3 separate regions of the Homo sapiens genome follow, and regions 1 and 2 are each linked to region 3. The links are contacts of gene promoters, found by promoter capture Hi-C in blood cells and fetal thymus (Javierre and others, 2016). All regions are on one chromosome and are shown on one strand. The core of a region is centred on a gene start or on the middle of the fragment in contact, and the rest is flanking DNA. Distances in the headings are between cores, read along the strand shown.

Region 1 (2,700 bases), core at 28-2,527, 290 kb after region 3:
CCTAGCTACTCGGAAGGCTGAGGCAGGAGAATAGCATGAACCCGGGAGGTGGAGCTTGCAGTGAGCTGAGATCACGCAACTGAACTCCAGCCTGGGTGACAGAGCGTGATTCCGTCTCAAAAAAAAAAAAAAAGAAAAAGAAAAAAAAGAAATGAGGTCTCACTATGTTGCCCAGGCTGATCTACCCACCTCGGCCTCCCAAAGTGCTGGGATTACAGGCGTGAACCACTGTGTCCGGCCATTTTTCTTCTTCTTCTTCTTTTTTTTTTTTTTGAGACGGACTCTTGCTCTGTCGCCAGGCTGGAGTGCAGTGGCGCGATCTTGGCTCACTGCAACCTCCGCCTCTTGGGTTCAAGCAATTCTCCTGCCTCAACCTCTGGAGTAGCTGGGATTACAGGCACTTGCCACCATGCCCAGCTAATTTTTGTATTTTTAGTAGAGATGGGGTTTCATCGTGTTGGCCATGATGGTCTCGATCTCCTGACCTCGTGATCTGCCCACCTCGGCCTCCCAAAATACTGAGATTACAGGCATGAGCCACCACGCCCAGCCATTTTTCTATTTTTTGTAGAGACAGGGGTCTCCCTATGTTGCTCAGGCTGGTCTTGAACTCCTGGGCTCAAGCAATCCTCCTGCCTCAGCCCCCAAAGTGCTTGCTGGGATTTCAGGCATGAGCCACCACACCCAGATATTTAGGCTTCTTTATTTTTTATTTATTTTTATTTTTTGAGACTGAGTTTTGCTCTTATTGCCCAGGCTGGAGTGCAGTGGTGCGATATCGGCTCAACTGGGTTCAAGTGATTCTCCTGCCTCAGCCACCTGAGTAGCTGGGATTACAGGTGCACGCCACCACACCCAGCTAATTTTTGTACTTTTAGTAGAGATGGGGTTTTGGCATATTGGCCAGGCTGGTCTCGAATTTCTGGCTTCAGGCCATCTGCCCATCTCAGCCTCCCAAAGTGTTGGGATTACAGGTGTGAGCCACCATGCTGGCCTAGGCTTCTTTAATCTGGGGCAATTCCTCATCTTTTTCATCTTTCATGACATTTTTTCAGAGTAGGACTCCCCCACACATTTTTCCTTTTAATCGAATGCACCTTATTTGAGGTTTGTCTGGTATTTCCTTATGGATAGATTCAGGCTATGTCTCCCTGGTGCAAATATAAGCAATATTATATTGTTTGGGTGGAGTTCTCTCCACTTTAAGGGATTCATGGAACTTCTGAACCTCTGAGGTTGATTAACCCCTGAGTTGTCTGTCAAAAAAATCAGATTTTCAAAACAAGTTAAGAAGGACATCATGAATTATGCGTGTGTCTTCACTCTGCTGATGGCTGGCTTAGGCTCTGCATTCTCTCTCTCCCTCTTCCCCTCCCGCTACCGAACTTGCCCTTGAAATTTCAGCAGCTGCTGTTGAAAGCATTCTTTTTGAAGGCCACTAGGGACCCCTAATTGCCCAACTCAGTCGCTTTCATAGTCTTCATCCTCTTGACCTCTTCTCAGGGCAACGGACTGGCTCACCCGCCCTTCTCCCTAAAACCACAGAAGGCCGCGCTTGGCTGTCCCAGTCTCTGCCCATTTCCTTCAACAAAAATGACAGAATGCCGGCTGCTCTGGGAGGTACAGAGGTGGATCCACTGTGGAGCCAGCTTTGCAGGTGGTGGCTTGTCAGGAAAATTCTGCAGGTCCTGGTCTTTTTTTCTTTTCTTTTCTTTCTTTTTTTTTTTTTTTTTTGAGACTGAGTCTCACTCTATTGCCCAGGCTGGAGTGCAGTGGCATGATCTCGGCTCACCGTGACCTCCGCCTCCCGGATTCAAGTGATCCTCTTGCCTGAGCCTCCCAGGTAGCTGGGATTACAGGCGCCCACCACCACGCCCAGCTTATTATTGTATTTTTAGTAGAGACAGAGTTTCACCATGTTGGCCAGGCTGGTCTCCAGAACTCCTGACCTCAGCTGATCTAGCCGCCTTGGCCTCCCAAAGTGCTGGGATTACAGGCATGAGCCACCACACCCGGCCTGGTCCTGGTATTTCTTGTATACTCCCCACACCCCAGTGAAGATGTTCTCTCAGCTTTTGTCCTCAGATGGGGTGCCTGGAATTGGTCTTTCCCCTGGAGGAGCCCCACCTTCTAGTGGTTTCAACTTTGCCTCTCCTTCAACAACCCAGGAGGGCAGCCCTGAGTCTCTGACCCTGACTCAGTGGATGTCCAGGCAGAATTATGTCAGGAATGGATCTGGGCTTAGTGTTTCTTCCTCAGCAGCCCCTAGGGCAAACAGACCTCCCCTCATACTCCTTTCCCAGGCCGTGAGCTCTTTTTAGGCAGGTTGGGGTCTAATTCTTCTCTATCCCTCGGCACTGGGCATGCAGTTGGCCCTCCATCAATATTTATGGAATAATGGCCAGGCGCAGTGGCTCATGCCTATAATCCCAGCACTTTGGGAGGCTGAGGCGGGAGGATTACTTGAGGTCAGGAGTTCAAGACCAGCCTGGTCAACATGGCAAAACCCAGTCTCTACTAAAAATACAAAAATTAGCTCGGTGTGGTGGCGCATGCCTGTAATTCCAGCTACTTGGGAGACTGAGGTAGGAGAATCATTTGAACCTGGGAGGCGGAGGTTGCAGTGAGCCGAGATTGGGTCATTGCATTCCAGCCTGGGTGACACAATGAGACTCTGTCTCGAAAAAAAAAAAAAAGTTA
Region 2 (2,500 bases), core at 1-2,500, 330 kb after region 3:
GGCGTACCTGGACAATATTTTTGATGTGGGGGCGCTGCTGGAGGACACAGAGACCAAGAACGCTGTGCTGGAGCACATGGAGGAACTGCAGGAGCAAGTGGCGCTGGTGAGAGTGGGTCCTGACCCCAGCCCAGCACATCATAGGCCCACAGGGCACACGGGCCACAGGGCCACGCAAGCATGGGCACTGGGCAGCAGACAGTGTTATAATTGTGCATTGGAGGTGCTGCCTGCCTGGCCCCAGAGCCTGGCCTGAATCCAAAGCCTGAATCTGTTGGGTGTCTTTCTCAATGAGTGTGGGTGAGCACCCTCACTGACAGGCCCCTCCTCTACCCAGGCTCAGACCCCAGGTGAACTGAAATGGGTGCCTGGGGCCCCTCCCAGCTCAGTCTCCTCCTCTCCCTCCACCTCCCGCATCACTGGTACCTTGGTTTCCTCTCCTTATTTGCTTGGGTTCGAGTGCCAGGCTCGGCCCACCCTTGGCACCTGGGCTGAGCGGATCTGGGAGCCTCCCCCAGTCTTCCAGGCAGGCATGCCTGATGCCGCCCCCTCACCGGCGGTGCCAGTGCCGGGCTGCGGGTCGGGGCTCACCATGTGCTGGTGCTACAGCTGACAGAGCGGCTTCGGGACGCGGAGAACGAATCCATGGCCAAGATTGCAGAACTGGAAAAACAGCTAAGCCAGGCGCGCAAGGAGTTGGAGACCCTGCGGGTGAGGCTGGGGCGGGTGGTAGGCCAGGCGCCCAAGAACAGGCCAGCTGAGGCTTCTAGGCTTGACATCTCCCTCCACCCCGGGAAGAAGATGGAGGCTTGGTGCCAAGGAGCCTGCTGGTGGGCACTGACCCCTCCCGTGGGGTTCGTAGGAGCGCTTCAGCGAATCGACCGCCATGGGGCCCTCCAGGCGTCCCCCAGAGCCTGAGAAAGCGCCTCCCGCTGCCCCGACGCGGCCCTCGGCCCTGGAGCTGAAGGTGGAGGAGCTGGAGGAGAAGGGGTTAATCCGTATTCTGCGGGGGCCGGGGGATGCTGTCTCCATCGAGATCCTCCCCGTCGCTGTGGCAACTCCGAGCGGCGGTGATGCTCCGACTCCGGGGGTGCCGACCGGCTCCCCCAGCCCAGGTGCGCAGGAGCTTCAGGCTGGCGGGGATGCGGGGCAGGGTCTGGAGGGGAGCCCAGGGGCATCTGTGGCGGGCAGAGTTGGGCGAGGGAGGTTTGGATTGTAGGCTCGGCTCAGGTAGGAGCGCATGCGTAGAGCGGAGAGGCGGAGAGGGGCCCACCCAAGTCAAGGAGCTGACTCGCGCCTCCCCCACGCCGCGCCCTCGCTGGCTCAGATCTCGCACCTGCAGCAGAGCCGGCTCCCGGAGCAGCGCCACCGCCGCCGCCCCCACTGCCCGGCCTCCCCTCCCCGCAGGAAGCCCCGCCCTCTGCGCCCCCACAGGCCCCGCCTCTCCCTGGCAGCCCGGAGCCCCCGCCTGCGCCGCCGCTGCCCGGAGACCTGCCGCCCCCACCCCCGCCACCGCCACCACCTCCGGGCACTGACGGGCCGGTGCCTCCGCCGCCGCCGCCGCCGCCGCCGCCTCCCGGAGGTCCTCCTGATGCCCTAGGAAGACGCGACTCAGAATTGGGCCCAGGTGAGTGGAGTGGACCACCTTGGGCCCGGGGCTGGGGGGAGATGGAGGGAGGGGCCTGGGCCTCAGTGTCCTCCAGGGTCCTCTGCCTGGGGGCCTCCTGCTGCCTCCTGGCTGCCCCATCAGCCCTCCCTGGGCCCAGGTTCCCTCCAGTAGTACCCCCAGTGCTCACCACTGCCCCCAAACCCCCGTCCCAGGAGTGAAGGCCAAGAAGCCCATCCAGACTAAGTTCCGAATGCCACTCTTGAACTGGGTGGCACTGAAACCCAGCCAGATCACCGGCACTGTCTTCACAGAGCTCAATGATGAGAAGGTGCTGCAGGTGAGTGGCCCTGCCTGGCTCCCCATGTGGGCACCGGAGGAAGAGGGGAGTTGCCTGGATCAGGCTGGGCCCTGGGGGTAGTCATTTTCTCCAAGCCATTTCACAGATGAGGAGGGGGAGGCCCAGGGATGGGCATTAAGCCAGACTGGACCAATACCTCTAACAGGCAGAATCCTGCTTTCCCAAACGCCTTCCCCTCCATCCCTGCAGAGGGGTGCCTCCCCTCACCCCACTTCTTCTGCCTCCAGGCCTCTTTCCTTCCACTTTCCCACAGGCAGCCAAGGCTTCAGCCCTCCTGATTCCACTTCCAGTTTTCCAAAAGGATGTATTCTCTTGCCTCTAGGCCATTGTTCCATTCTGTTTCCTCTGCCTGGAATGTCTTTTCCTTTCTCCTTTTTACCGCTGGCCAGTTCAGCTCTTCCTTTAGCTCTTGTGGCCCCAAGTCTGGATCCCCCGGGTTAGGCGGCCCTCCTCCTCCAGGCTCCCTGTGCTTCCCCTGTGCCTCCCATCAGGGCCTGTGGTCAGGCTGGGTTACTGGTTCTCTGCTGGTGGCC
Region 3 (2,775 bases), core at 1-2,500:
CTGGAGGATGAGCAGATGTGGGCTTTTGCCTTAACTCATTACTAAGGTGCCTTATCAGGGTTGGTGCACCTGCTTCTGCTCACACAGGCGCATCCACAAGCATACACTCACTGTTGCACACACACACACACACACGCACATGTCCTCCTGCACTTGAAGGCACACATGCATGTCCTGTCAGCTCAGTGAAGCGCCATGCCCCTGGGGATTCCTCTGATCCCAGGTAACCACCTTTTGAAATGAATTTTATTATGACCACCGCTTCACAGCTGTGCAAGTCAAAGTAACTTGATGGGGGTCACAAGCTGGTGGCAGGCAGTCACCTGTGCTTTGCGCCCAGACCTGCCTGCTCTTTCCCTCACTTTCTTCACCCCAGAATCCAATCTCCCTCATGGACATCAACCTTCTCCGCTTCCAACTCCTCCTTTATATGGACACAGGCTCAGAATAGGTGAGCTCGCTGCCCACAGTCACAAAGCCCAGCCATGAATGAAACACAGGGGCCCCGCTGCTCCTGCACTGCTTTCCCCAGTAGGGAGGTGCTGAGGGGACCCTGGACTCCTGGCAGAAGGCATGCGGGCATCAGATCCCCGGGGCCCTGGGCCTGTTTCTGGTCCCTCCCATCATGTTGGGGGGCAAGGATAGTGCCCCATCAAGAGGTAGGGAGGCCCAGGGAGCAGGGAGGTTCGGCCCCTCCCTGAGACTTCTCGGGCACTCCTTCTTGGGGATTCAGCCCCTTCTGCTCACAAGGCCCCCCTTCCCCATCCCCTCCTCACTTCTGCCTCACAGTGGCCAGGTCCTGTGCCAGATTGTCCCTCTCAACCTCCAGCCGGGCGCTGTTGGCGGTGAGTTGATCGAGCCGCAGCCGCAGCTCTCGCAGCTCAGCCTGGTAGACGTCTGCCAGCTTGGTGGGCTCCTTGGCCCGCAGCTGGTTCAGCTCAGCAGCCAGCGCCTTGTTTTGCTGTTCCAGGAAGCGAACCTTCTCGATGTAGCTGGCAAAGCGGTCATTGAGCTCCATCATCTCTGCCCGCTCACTGGCCCGGGTCTCCTTGAAGCCAGCATTGAGTGCCCCAGCCAGGGAGAAATCCACCCGGGTCGGGAGTGGAGGGGGCATTCGAGCCAGGGAGAGGCGGGTGCCAGGACCCAGACGGCGGCCAGGAGCCAGGCCCCCCACCATCATCTCCCCTGAGGAGACGTAGGAGCGGCGAGCAGCGGAGGTGATGCGTCTCCTCTCCATCCTGCTCTGGCTCTGCTCGCTCCTGGGATGCGAGGGCTTTATGAAGGAGTGGGCTAGACTGGCGATGCCCGGGTGCCCCTGGCAACACCCCCTGGCATAGCCTGAGGGGGTGGGGTTGGGCCGCAGCCCAGCTATGGGGAGAGCTCCCCTCACCCCACTGAGGTCACTGTGCCCAGAGGCAGAGCTTCCTGGGCACGCCAACTCCTGCATGAGGCAGGTGGTACCTGGAGCCAGACCATGGGTCTGGGGCCCTGACCGCTGAAGCAAGAGGACCCTCTCTCTAGGAAGGTGGGTCAAGAAAGGGTTGGTTGGACCATGATGAATACTTACAATTATTATGCATCAATTAAAAAGGAAGGAAAGGGCTGAGTGGGGTGGCTCATGCTTGTAATCCCAGCACTTTGGGAGGCTGAGGCTGGAGGATTGCTTGAGCCCAGTAGGTTGAGGCTGCAGTGAGCTGTGTTTGCGCCACTCCAGCCTGGGCAACAGAGAGAGACCTTGTCTCACAAAAAAAAAAAAAAAAAAGGGAAGGAAGGGCTGTACCAGATGACCTCTGACCTGCTTTCCAACTTTTTGATTTCATAACCCAGGCATTATCTCACTCAGCTGTAAGTGCCTGCAAGGTGCTGGGAATTTGGCGAAGAATGAACCTGTTCTGTACCCTCAAGGGCCACCTCATTTCCTACTAGGCCTCATTCCCAGCAGACTCCTGGAGTCCTTCCCTTGAACACAGATGTCCCACATTCCTGCTCTCTGCCCATTCATTCCCTGGAGTTCTGGGGCTGGGGGCTGGGATTGGACACCAGCCCTTTGTCTAAGGGTCAATCATGGCCTCTATGTGGCAGTGGAGGTCCTGATAGGGCAAGAGGGGGCCGGCACTCTCTTGCCTTATCAGGACTTTAGCCCCTGGATCTGTCCCTCCAGGTCACCCCTTCCTTGTCTGGCCTCCCTGTGCCTCTCTCCCAGAGACCAGGCCTTGACAGCTCCACAAAGCCGTTACACATGAGCTGGCTGTGCTGGCTCGTCTTTATTCCTGCAGCGCCCCGTTTCCCTGGCCACCCCTCCGTCTCCCACTGGAGATTTATTTCCTCGAGTTCCCACACATCAGCCTGGAGAGATGGGAAGAACCTCTGGGGATGGATGGGTTTGGAAACGCTGGAGCCACTGGGCCCAACTAGGAGCCTGAGACCTGGGCCCTGTTGTCCCTGGAGACTTCAGGTCCATCTACGCCCTCCACTCTGGTCCCACAGGGTCAGAACCCTGCCCAGTCCCCTCACCCATTTGTGTCCTTGGACTTCTGGGAAGCAGACAGCCCTCCTCTCCCCCCCTGCCACCCACTGTCCATGCCTGGGCATCCCCTGATCCCCTTTCCTGGGCACAGGCTGAATAGAGCCTTGTTCTCCACCGCCGGTGGCGCCACACAGCAAGGGCAGCCCCTAGGGGGCTGTGCTGCTTTTATCCCAAGATGCCAGGCTGTCAGGCTGGGGTGCAATGCAAGCCCCCTGCTCAATGGGCTTCTCGGAAGGCATTTGAGGGGG

The links. Contacts are between HindIII fragments. The CHiCAGO score rates a contact against its expected background, and 5 or more counts as called.
Region 1: a fragment that was not itself captured here is called in contact with the fragment with the promoter of GFAP in region 3 in 2 of 17 cell types (endothelial precursors and naive CD4 T cells); the score reaches 7.2 in endothelial precursors.
Region 2: the fragment with the promoter of FMNL1-AS1 here is called in contact with the fragment with the promoter of GFAP in region 3 in 1 of 17 cell types (monocytes); the score reaches 5.9 in monocytes.

The regions. Positions count from the first base shown.
Region 1 is chr17:45,199,401-45,202,100 of GRCh38, forward strand. The region is part of intron 2 of FMNL1-DT (FMNL1 divergent transcript); the gene reads right to left. Among named protein-coding and RNA genes, the nearest start is that of FMNL1-DT, 21 kb to the right of the region's middle. The HindIII fragment of the contact is 4,769 bases long and covers 1-2,700 here.
Region 2 is chr17:45,240,520-45,243,019 of GRCh38, forward strand. It overlaps FMNL1-AS1 (FMNL1 antisense RNA 1), which reads right to left and starts at 1,251. Exons shown (of 3, transcript NR_186808.1): 1 at 592-1,251; 2 at 1-85. It overlaps FMNL1 (formin like 1), which reads left to right. Exons shown (of 27, transcript NM_005892.4): 12 at 1-106; 13 at 610-711; 14 at 863-1,115; 15 at 1,328-1,627; 16 at 1,822-1,946. RefSeq lists an enhancer at 643-1,361. The HindIII fragment of the contact is 17,531 bases long and covers 1-2,500 here.
Region 3 is chr17:44,914,250-44,917,024 of GRCh38, forward strand. It overlaps GFAP (glial fibrillary acidic protein), which reads right to left and starts at 1,251. Exons shown (of 9, transcript NM_002055.5): 1 at 777-1,251. The coding sequence starts at 1,237. The HindIII fragment of the contact is 16,653 bases long and covers 1-2,775 here.